2 separate regions of the Homo sapiens genome follow, and region 1 is linked to region 2. The links are contacts of gene promoters, found by promoter capture Hi-C in blood cells and fetal thymus (Javierre and others, 2016). All regions are on one chromosome and are shown on one strand. The core of a region is centred on a gene start or on the middle of the fragment in contact, and the rest is flanking DNA. Distances in the headings are between cores, read along the strand shown.

Region 1 (4,795 bases), core at 1,906-4,405, 1.6 Mb before region 2:
TCAAAGCTCTCCTCTGTAAAATATGCATAGAATGGGCAGGAGGGCTGCCAATGAGCTGCTTGAAATGAGTTCACATCTCTTGGAAGCAGAGAAAGCTTACAACTAAAGTGGCCAGACAGCCATATGTGATCTTAGAAGAACTGTTGAACCCAGAGAGAGGCCTCGAAAATGGAGATGGGCAAATGCCATTCCCACCATGCGAATCCCTTTCCCATTTTTGCTTGTGGCTGCCCAGACTCGGTCCCTACCCACGCTTAATAAATTCTTACAATTTATTCTCCTGCCCTTCAGCTTGACTTGTAATAATGTAATGATGGCTATCAGGGTTGGAACAGCAAGCACGATACCAGCACTTTAGGAAGATTAGTTTCCTCTATTTAATGCTCATGACTACCTGCAAGGTAAGTGTTGTCACACCGGGTACAGATGAGGAAATGAAGGCAAATCTCTGCGCAAAGTCCTGGGTGGGTGGGCTGGAGAGTTGGGAGCCTGACTCGGGTTTATCTGAGAAAACAAGTGGGCAGGAAACTCAACTGCTCCACATGAGATGCAGAAGTTCTGCCATTTTTTTCTCAGATTATAAAGTGTCAGAGGCTGCTCTGGAAAAAAAAGGTGCAATGAATTCTTGTTCAATCATTAATGGTGCTTCAAAGGACATACAGGCCCATGCACACATCCTTCTATGTAGGTACAGAGAATTATTTTTATCCTGAGTTGCACACATTTATTATGTTATTAATAGCATGGACTCAACTGGGTGTCCCACAGAGTGACTCTTCTAATGACTGGTTAGGAAATTTGACAGCAAGTAAGAGGGCGGTGAGCCTGCTTTCTGGTCTGGGCCTGAGTGACCCCCCATCTTCCTCCATTTGGTTGAGAACAGGCTACAGGTCAGACCTCAGCCACTGGGATACTGAACCAGGGCTTCCTGGACCAGCGCCTCTTTAGGGTTGAACACTCACCTTCCTGCAGTACAAAGCAGTGGGCAGTCTCGAGTGCCCTTCTGAGGTCAGCCTGTTGGGGTGTAAATGGTTCTTGAAATGCATCTGATTTCCAGCTTGTTAGCATCTCATTGTCTCCCTTAGAGTTTCAGCCTCCCTTAGAGTCCTCACACCTTGTCAAGACAGATGCTTCCTGGAACAGGATCTCTGAGCTGTGGAATGGAAAGTACCTTTATCATCTTTGCCTGTCTCCTAACAGGTTTGTCCCTTGTCATTCTATGTCAGTTTCAGGTAGGGTGGCAGGAGAAGGGAATTTGTTGAGAGCCCACCGTGCTTCAGGTACATATTAGGTGCCTTATATACATTATCTCACTTAATACTCAAAACCCCCCTGTCAGGTAGCTGTAATTAGCTCTGACTTAGAAGTTTCTAACCATGCAACTTGCAAATGTTGTACCTGGGATTTAAAGCTCAGATCTGAGCTCTTCCTAGTACATCTTACTCTTGAAATGTGTGCTTTAATACATTTATTTAATCATCTTTTTTGCAAAAAGGACTGTGCTAGGCAATCTAGAGTGAGGCATGGTTCTTGTCCTTAGGGAACTCCAGTACCATTGTGGGAGGAAGATTCACACAGACGGAAGTTAATGAATAATGTGAAGAAATGTCACACATGTCCAGTGAGAAGAAATGATGTGTGCTACAGGACTTCAACTGAGGAAGGGATGCCTGCGTGGTCAGAGGAGGCTCATGGAAAAGGTAGGATATGAATTCGTTTTTGAAACATGAATAAGATTTGGGTGGGGGCAGAGATGGGACACATTACACTTGCAGTGAACCCACCTGGTGTGTTCTGAGAATAGAGCAGCTTCATGATGGGAATAGGGGTGGAAGAGCGATCCCTTTGGGGTGGGAGACTTAATGCCAGGTTCTGGAATTTGGACTTCGTCCTGAAGGCAATGGGGGAACTACCAGCATTTTCTGATTGGGGTGGGGAGTAGGTAATGACTTGAGAAAAGTAGAACTTTTAGAAATACTAATGAGGAAACAAATGGTAGAAAGGATTGGTGAAAAGAGAGACTAGGGAGGAGGGAAAAAGGGAGAAGACTTAGGAAGCTGATCATTTGCCCATCATGTAAGTGCCAAGTAATATGCTAAGAAACTTTGTGTCACCTATAATCTCGTATCCTCAGCCGGTCCTTATGCAACATCTATTATTATCCCAGGTTCGTAAGATGATCATGTGTCACTACCACCCAACAAACCTGTTTTCTCTTCTTCCTGGGAATACAGCTAGACCAAATATTCCAGGCTCTTTAGGTGTGGCCATGGGTATCCCTTCCAGGCCTGGCTTATACAATCTCCCTGGGCAATCTCTCCTCCTCTTCCCCTGTCTGCTGAATGTTGATGAGCAAGGTGACCATTGTGGCTAGCTACTGGGGGCTTGTCTTTGCCCTGCTTCATCCTCTGGATTCCAACAGGGACCCCAGGCCCTTGCCTTAGCAGGGAAGGGACAGGAGGCAGCAGAGACCAGTGTCTGGACATCAGTGATTGTAGCTTCAAGGGGAGCATTGGAGTCTCTCACAGGCTGATCCATGGACTGCAGGTGCCACCTTATCTGTACTCAGGGTATTTGGAGAAGGGAATTATGGAAAGAGACTGGTCATCCTGCTGCTCTGGGCAGGTAGGGGCTCAGTGTGGTTATGGTTTGAAAATTAAAACAAACATCTTTTACCTTTTTTTTTTTTTTGAGATGAAGTCTTGCTCTGTCACCCTGACTAGAGTGCAGTGGCACGATCTCGGCTCACTGCCTCCCAGGTTCAAGTGATTCTCCAAGATGTGATAATTTAGTTACCAAATGACGGCAGTGAGAATGAAAATCAAGGGACAAAAGATGATCAATACTATGGGGTGAATAAATTACTACATTTGGTGATTGATTCAAGATTTAAGATGTCACGAGTATAGCTTAGAGATAAGTGATTAGGGATCTAAGGGAGGAGTTCAAGAAAACTCTCTGCTCGTCCCAAGCCAAACTCCCTATGTGTGCTATGGTTCCTAAACCCTCCCTCCAATCAAGTGTTTGCTTCTACAATTACTTCTTTTTCCCTGACATCTTCACATTTTCCTTCTCCCCTGGCTCATACTCATCAGCATATAAATATGCTGGAATCTCCTAACATAAAACGCCTCATGTTAGACTTAGTTTTAACTCCTGCTCCATTTCTCTGCTCCTGTTTCTCTTAAAGCTCCTGAGAAGGGCTGTGTGCTCTTGCTGTGTCTGCTTCATCCCTCACTTCCCATTCTCTCACGGGTTCCCTCCCATGCACCACTGAAACTACCCTTGTCTCCTCTTTCGAGCTCCAGGTTGCCAAAGCCAATGGCCGATGCTGTCTTCACCCTACTGGGGCCCTGGGCTCCGCCGACTCTTCTAGGGATGTTTCTTTGCTTTGCTTCTGGGAAAGTGCACTCCTGATTTTCTTCTAACTTTCAGGCAGCAACAGCTCCTTCTGTCTCCAGGCTGCCTTTTTGTTTTTTTTTTCTGTTTTTGGTTTGTTTGTTTGTTTTTGAGATGGTGTCTCACTCTGTTGCCCAGGCTGGAGTGCAATGGTGTGATCTTGGCTCACTGCAACCTCCGCCTCCGGGTTCAAGTGATTCTCCTGTCTCAGCCTCCCAAGTAGCTGGGATTATAGGTGTGTGCCACTACTCCTGGCTAATTTTTGTATTTTTAGTAGAGACGGGGTTTCACCATGTTGGCCAGGCTGGTCTCGAACTCCTGACCTCAGGTGATCCACCTCCCTCAGCCTCCCAAAGTGTTGGGATTACAGGCGTGAGCCACCACACCTGGCCCAGGTGTGGTGCCTTTTCATTCTCCTCCAAATCTCTGAATGTCGACACATCCCGGGACAGGTCCCCTGCTTCTTTTCTTTCTCCAGGTTCCCTTACTGAATGAGCTCATCTTGACCCAGAGTGTTCAATATCTGTGTGAAACACTATAAACTCCTAAAATGGTAAGAAAAAGAAAAGAAAATGGAGGCCTCCCCGCCATGATCTCCTAAGCCTGTTGTATTTTTGTTCATAGCGTTCATCACCACCTGATGTAATATTTTATGTTTATTTTTGGCTTACCGTGTGGGTTCCCCCATCCATGAGGACAGCGGCCCTGTCCTGTTCAATGCTGCAGCCCCCGCCCCTGGGCAATGCCCACACAGGGTGGGCACCCAGTCTGTTCTTGTGGGATATGTGACAGAACAGAGCCTGGCTCCTGATGAGGAATGTGAGTCAAGGGACAAGCTGGTTTGGGAAACTGGAGACTGATCCTGTGTTGGGCCTGCTGAGCTGCAGGCCACCCAGGTGGAGTTCCACATGCCGCTGGACATTCCAGGCTGCAGCCTGGGGGAGGCCTGAGTTGGAGATGTGTGTCCTCGTTAAGGTGCTGCTGGGCTGGGCATGGTGGCTCACGCCTATAATCCCAGCACTTTGGGAGGCCAAGGTGGGTGGATCATTTGAGATCAGGAGTTGGAGACCAGCCTGGCCAACATGGTGAAACCCCATCTCTACTGAAAATATAAAAATTACCCGGGTGTGGTGGCACATGCCTGTAATCCCAGCTACTCAGGAGGCTGAGGCAGGAGAATCGCTTCAACCTGGGAGGCGGAAGTTGCAGTGAGCTGAGATTGTGCCACTGTACTCCAGCCTGGGCTACAGAGTGAGGCTCCATCTCAAAAAAAAAAAAAAAAAAAAGTTGCTGCTGAAGCCAAAGGGTGTGTGAGCCCCTAGGACCTAGGGGATCAGCAGCTGGGGCCTGAAGTTTGGGAAATGAGGTGCAGGTTGGGGCTGAGGAACAATGGGAG
Region 2 (4,637 bases), core at 1,847-4,346:
GCACAGAGACCTGCCCTTGCTTTCCCAACCCTGAACGACACACAGTCAGTGGGTTGTTCACTCAGTTGTCAGCCTATGTGCTTTCCTAGAGCTGCTGTGATGTGTCAAGTTGTGTACAATGCTGGGCATATGAAACTAGAGTATATGATTTCATTCTTCAGGCAGCTGAGAAGACACAACCCAATGAATCAATTTCTTGCCAGCATGTTACATGCCATAATGGAAGTATACACAGGTGCTGTGGAAGCAAAAAAGAGACACCTAGCCCAGGAGACATTGATTATATCACACTCATTCTCATTTACACATGTGTTGGGTCTTAGTTATCTATTTTACCAGCATTCTACATAATACCAGCTCATGGTAGTTGACAAATAATTGTTAAATGAAAGAATGCATAGCTAAGCATTACTGATTTTGTAAATATAGTCTAGAATGGGAAAGGACCCAGTACTTTGCTTACACCCACAGGTAACCAACCAGCAACCACAGGCCTGAATCTGATGCACCGTCTTCTGCTCGTGCCATGGTTTTTGTTTTTGTTTTTTCTTAATTGAGTCATCTTTACTTAAAAATGCTAATTTCCAGCTTCACTTGTAAGATCAGAATATCTGAAAACACTTTACACTTATTCCAAAATGACTCCAACTGGTTGGAGCTAAGTAGAACTTAGAGCCTATGATGATTAATTTTATGTGTTGATTTGACTGGGCTAAGGGGTGCCCAGATAGCTGGGAAAACAATATCTCTGGGTGTGCCTGTGAGGGCGTTTCTGGAACAGGTGTTAATCAGTAGACTGAGTAAAGAAGATCCACCCTCACCAATGTGAATAGGCATCATCCAGCCCATTGAGGGCTCAAATAAAACAAAAGGCAGAGGAAGGGTGAATTCTGTCTTCCGGAGCTGGGACATCTTCCCTTAGATATCAGAGCTCCTGGTTCTCAAGCCTTTGGACTTTGGGACTTACACCATCAGTTCTCCTTGATCTTATGCCTTTGGATTCAGACTTAATTACGTCACTGGCTTTGCTGTTTCTCCAGCTTGCAGACAGGAGGTGGTGGGTCTTCTAGGACTCCACAATTGCATGAGCCAACTCCCATAATAAATCTCTTTACATATCTATCCAATGGGTTCCATTTCTCTGGAGAATGCTGACTAACACAGATCCCCTTCGATCAAGCACGAGCCCTGAGTTGGCCATGGTCCTACCTGTCATAATGAGAGAACTCTTCTCATTTGTGTTATGGGTCCTGGAGGCATTTGATTATTGGTCTGGTCATTCACAGGAAACCCATGTAGAAACAGCAAGCATACCTAGGAAAACTAGGAGAGAATTCCCAGAGTTCTAAGGGCTTATAGAAGTGCAGTGTCAATGAATGCAGGATTGAACCAAGCTGGAGAGAGGGAGGCTGGCCTGCAGAAGAAGATATCCTTTACTGGTACCTGAATTGGCTCCTGCCAAGTTTATCTCTGCTGATGAGGAAGCTTTGCCTCTAGTTTCTCTCCTGAGAAGGGAGAGTTTCAATCAACCTTGGCTTTTCATAAAGGACTTGGGGCTGCTGGCTGAATAGCCTGTGTGTTGGGGTTCACCCATGGGGATTTTCAAGGAGGCCTGAATCTTCTGATCCATCCAATCTCTCATTTTACACTTGAAGAAACTGAGGCTGAGAAAGGGGAAGTGACTTGGCCAAGGCCACACAGCAAGGTCAAGATCCAAGACTAAAACCAATTGCTTCTCTGTTTTGCTTATTACTACAGCACAGAAATAAAGAAATAGAGAATGGGAGAGGAGAGGTAGGTGTGGGGAGGCGATATGAAAACATGGAACAAGTGCTCTGCTTTTAGAATAACTAGAACTTTGAGCCCAGAAGATTTCTTTTCTTTTAATAAATAAATGTTTTATAATCTTACTTCTGTGGCTGGTGGGAAAAAAAGTCCTTCAAGTCCCCAAGGAATGTTAGGAAAACCTCCATTAAATTCTAGTCTTCAAATCTGAGTCATAATAACTATAATAAACTCTGGGAGTGTTTCCTTAGAGTTTCTCTTTTAGGGTGGAGAGGAGGCAGCAAAAAGAATAGGCAAGTTTTCACAAGAAAAACTTGTAAATAGGCAAGTATAACAAGAAAATGTATAAACCGGGATGGCTTCATAATTAGGCATAGCCTAATTGTGCTTATGTGTCTAGTCAAGAAACTCTATCTAGAGTTCCAGGGGAAGAAGGTGTTGGGGATGAGGGAGTAGGATTGGTTTGAGGGTAGTAGACTATATAAGGCATCATGCTCCTTCCCATGGAGGGGATGTATGATGGTTAATATTAGGTGTCAACTTGATTAGATTGAAGGATGCAAACTATTGTTCCTGGATGTGTCTGTGAGGGTGTTGCCAAAGATATTAACTTTTGAGTCAGTGGACTGGGAGAGGCAGACCCACCCTCAATCTGGGCGGGCACCATCTAATCAGCTGCCAGCACAGCCAGAATAAAAGCACACAGAGGAACATGGAAGGAGTAGACTTGCTGAGTCTTCCAGCCTTCATCATTCTCTCGTGCTGGATACTTCCTGCCCTCGAACAACAGACTCCAAGTTCTTCAGCTTTTGGACTCTTGGATTTACACCAGCAGTTTGCCGGGGGCTCTGGGGCCTTCAGAAGGCTGCACTGTCAGCTTCCCTACTTTTGAGGTTTGGGGACTCGGACTGGCTTCCCTGCTCTTCGGCTTGCAGACAGCCTATTGTGGGACTTCACCTTGTGCTCATGCAAGTCAATACTACTTAATAAGCTCCCCCTCATTTATACATCTATCCTGTTAGTTCTGTCCCTCTAGAGAAACCTGACTAATATAGCATGTGTATGTGCTTTTCCCTTTGCTTGGAATGCTTGTCCCCACTCTGACCCTAAGCACCACCACAACCTTCCTTCCTGGAGCTCAGGCTGTTATCCTCCAGGGCTCTGCTGATTCCCTGGGCACCCCGCACTCTGCTTCACAGCACTCATCACATTTGTCACTTGTGTAATTTGTTGCTTATCCCAGGCTTCCGTATTACATGATAAGCTCCATTAATGACAGTGTTGTCTGCCTTGGTTTTGTTCATGATGAGCACAGTGCCTGGCCCACAGTACCAGCTCACTAAGTATTTAGCAAAGGGCTTTATGAGGTCATCCCTGGCTCCAGCACCTCACAATCTTTATGGTGACTGTTCAGAGGGCAGCTAAGCAGAAAAGAAGTTTTCAACAAGGCTGTTTCTGGCCTGTTTTCCCTCTCAGTACTACATGGCAAGTCACGTCTCCAAACTGAGGAGTGTGCCTGAAGAGTCAGGTCTGGCAGAGAAAGGATTTCTTGCCCTAGGTTTAAACAAGCAATGTCAACATAACTTCCAAAGGCATCGGCTGCTTGGAAGAAGTGAATCCCTTGGGTCATTCCCTTGATTATTGTGAACCCGTGGCTGAGCAGGACAGAAATGTCACACAGGTGGACTGAGAACAAAATGATTTCAGATATGGGAGCCCCAAAGTGGCATCCCAAGGACAAGTGCTCAGAATTGCATGACTTGGTTTTCTGTTGAGCTATTCTGTCTTGGATAATTACAGCATGAGCTCTTGGCCAGTGGTGGGAATTAATTGGTTTTAATTCTCCCGCAAAGATTCTCTTAAGTAAAAGTAAAACATTTGCAAACTGGAGTTCTTTGAGTTATTGGTAACAACTTACTTTGCACCTCATAGCACACTGGTTAATAGCCTCCGCCAAATAACTAATATTTAGGCACTTTGCTAATGTATGCAAAGTGCTTTTAAGTATTATGCTATTAAATCTTCACAACATCACAGGTAGGTATTAGCACCATCTTACCTATTTTATGGATATCCAAACAGAGGTCTTCAAAAGTTAGAAAATCTGCACAGTCACAGAGCCAGTGGAGCCACAGCTGAGGCATGGACAGGCTGCTCTCCTACCACCTGCCAGGCCGCTCTTGCCCAGCTCATGAGGTCCAAAGTTTTCTCAACAAACTGCTTGGTGTCGATGTTGTAACCTGGAGCATTGCCCTGCAGCAGAAAGGCAGGCCTGGACATTCGCATGTCAGCATGGGGCGAAGCTGATAATTTCCAGTTGGGATCCAAGAAAAAGAAAAGCTCTCCACATGCCAACAACATTGTTATGAAGCTCTCTTGACCCAGCTACCCAACAGTGATCTCAAACATTTGGTCTCTCCAGTGTGTGTATGGGGGTGGGGGGCAGCTGGGCGTGTAGCCTTGTACACTTTGCACTTGGAGAGGTAGGGACAGGGGTCTAAATTAAGGGAAACCCTGCCCAGGGGCTGGCTTTGGGAAGCATGCCCAGCAGCCATGTGGAAGTTCACTGCATTACGGTGAATTACACCAGGTGGGGTGAGTACAGGACAAGGAAGTAGAAGTCAGAGCCTGCTTTTCAAAATCACCCTGCAGGCTGTTGTCCCCAGAAGAAGAGATCAACCTCAGGGGAGACCAGAGTCCTAAACACAAAACAAAAGAGTAATAAGGGAGGAAGCAAATGAAGTTGCTTATCTCATTTATTTATTTTTCTCTCCCATTTCCGCCTATGCTCCTCCAACTGAACCCCCCCTAGTCTCTGGTTTCCTGGCCACTATCTGGCCAATAACCTCCAC

What was found. The method cuts DNA at HindIII sites, captures the fragments that hold promoters and counts their contacts. A CHiCAGO score of 5 or more calls a contact.
Region 1: a contact is called between a fragment that was not itself captured here and the fragment with the promoter of LINC01352 in region 2, in 1 of 17 cell types (naive B cells). The highest score is 6.3, in naive B cells.

Annotation. Positions count from the first base shown.
Region 1 is chr1:222,449,645-222,454,439 of GRCh38, reverse strand. No RefSeq gene overlaps it. Among named protein-coding and RNA genes, the nearest start is that of TRT-TGT2-1, 13 kb to the left of the region's middle. The HindIII fragment of the contact is 6,115 bases long and covers 98-4,795 here.
Region 2 is chr1:220,827,714-220,832,350 of GRCh38, reverse strand. It overlaps LINC01352 (long intergenic non-protein coding RNA 1352), which reads right to left and starts at 3,096. Exons shown (of 4, transcript NR_110797.1): 1 at 2,909-3,096; 2 at 1,444-1,658; 3 at 968-1,209; 4 at 1-238. The HindIII fragment of the contact is 6,544 bases long and covers 1,488-4,637 here.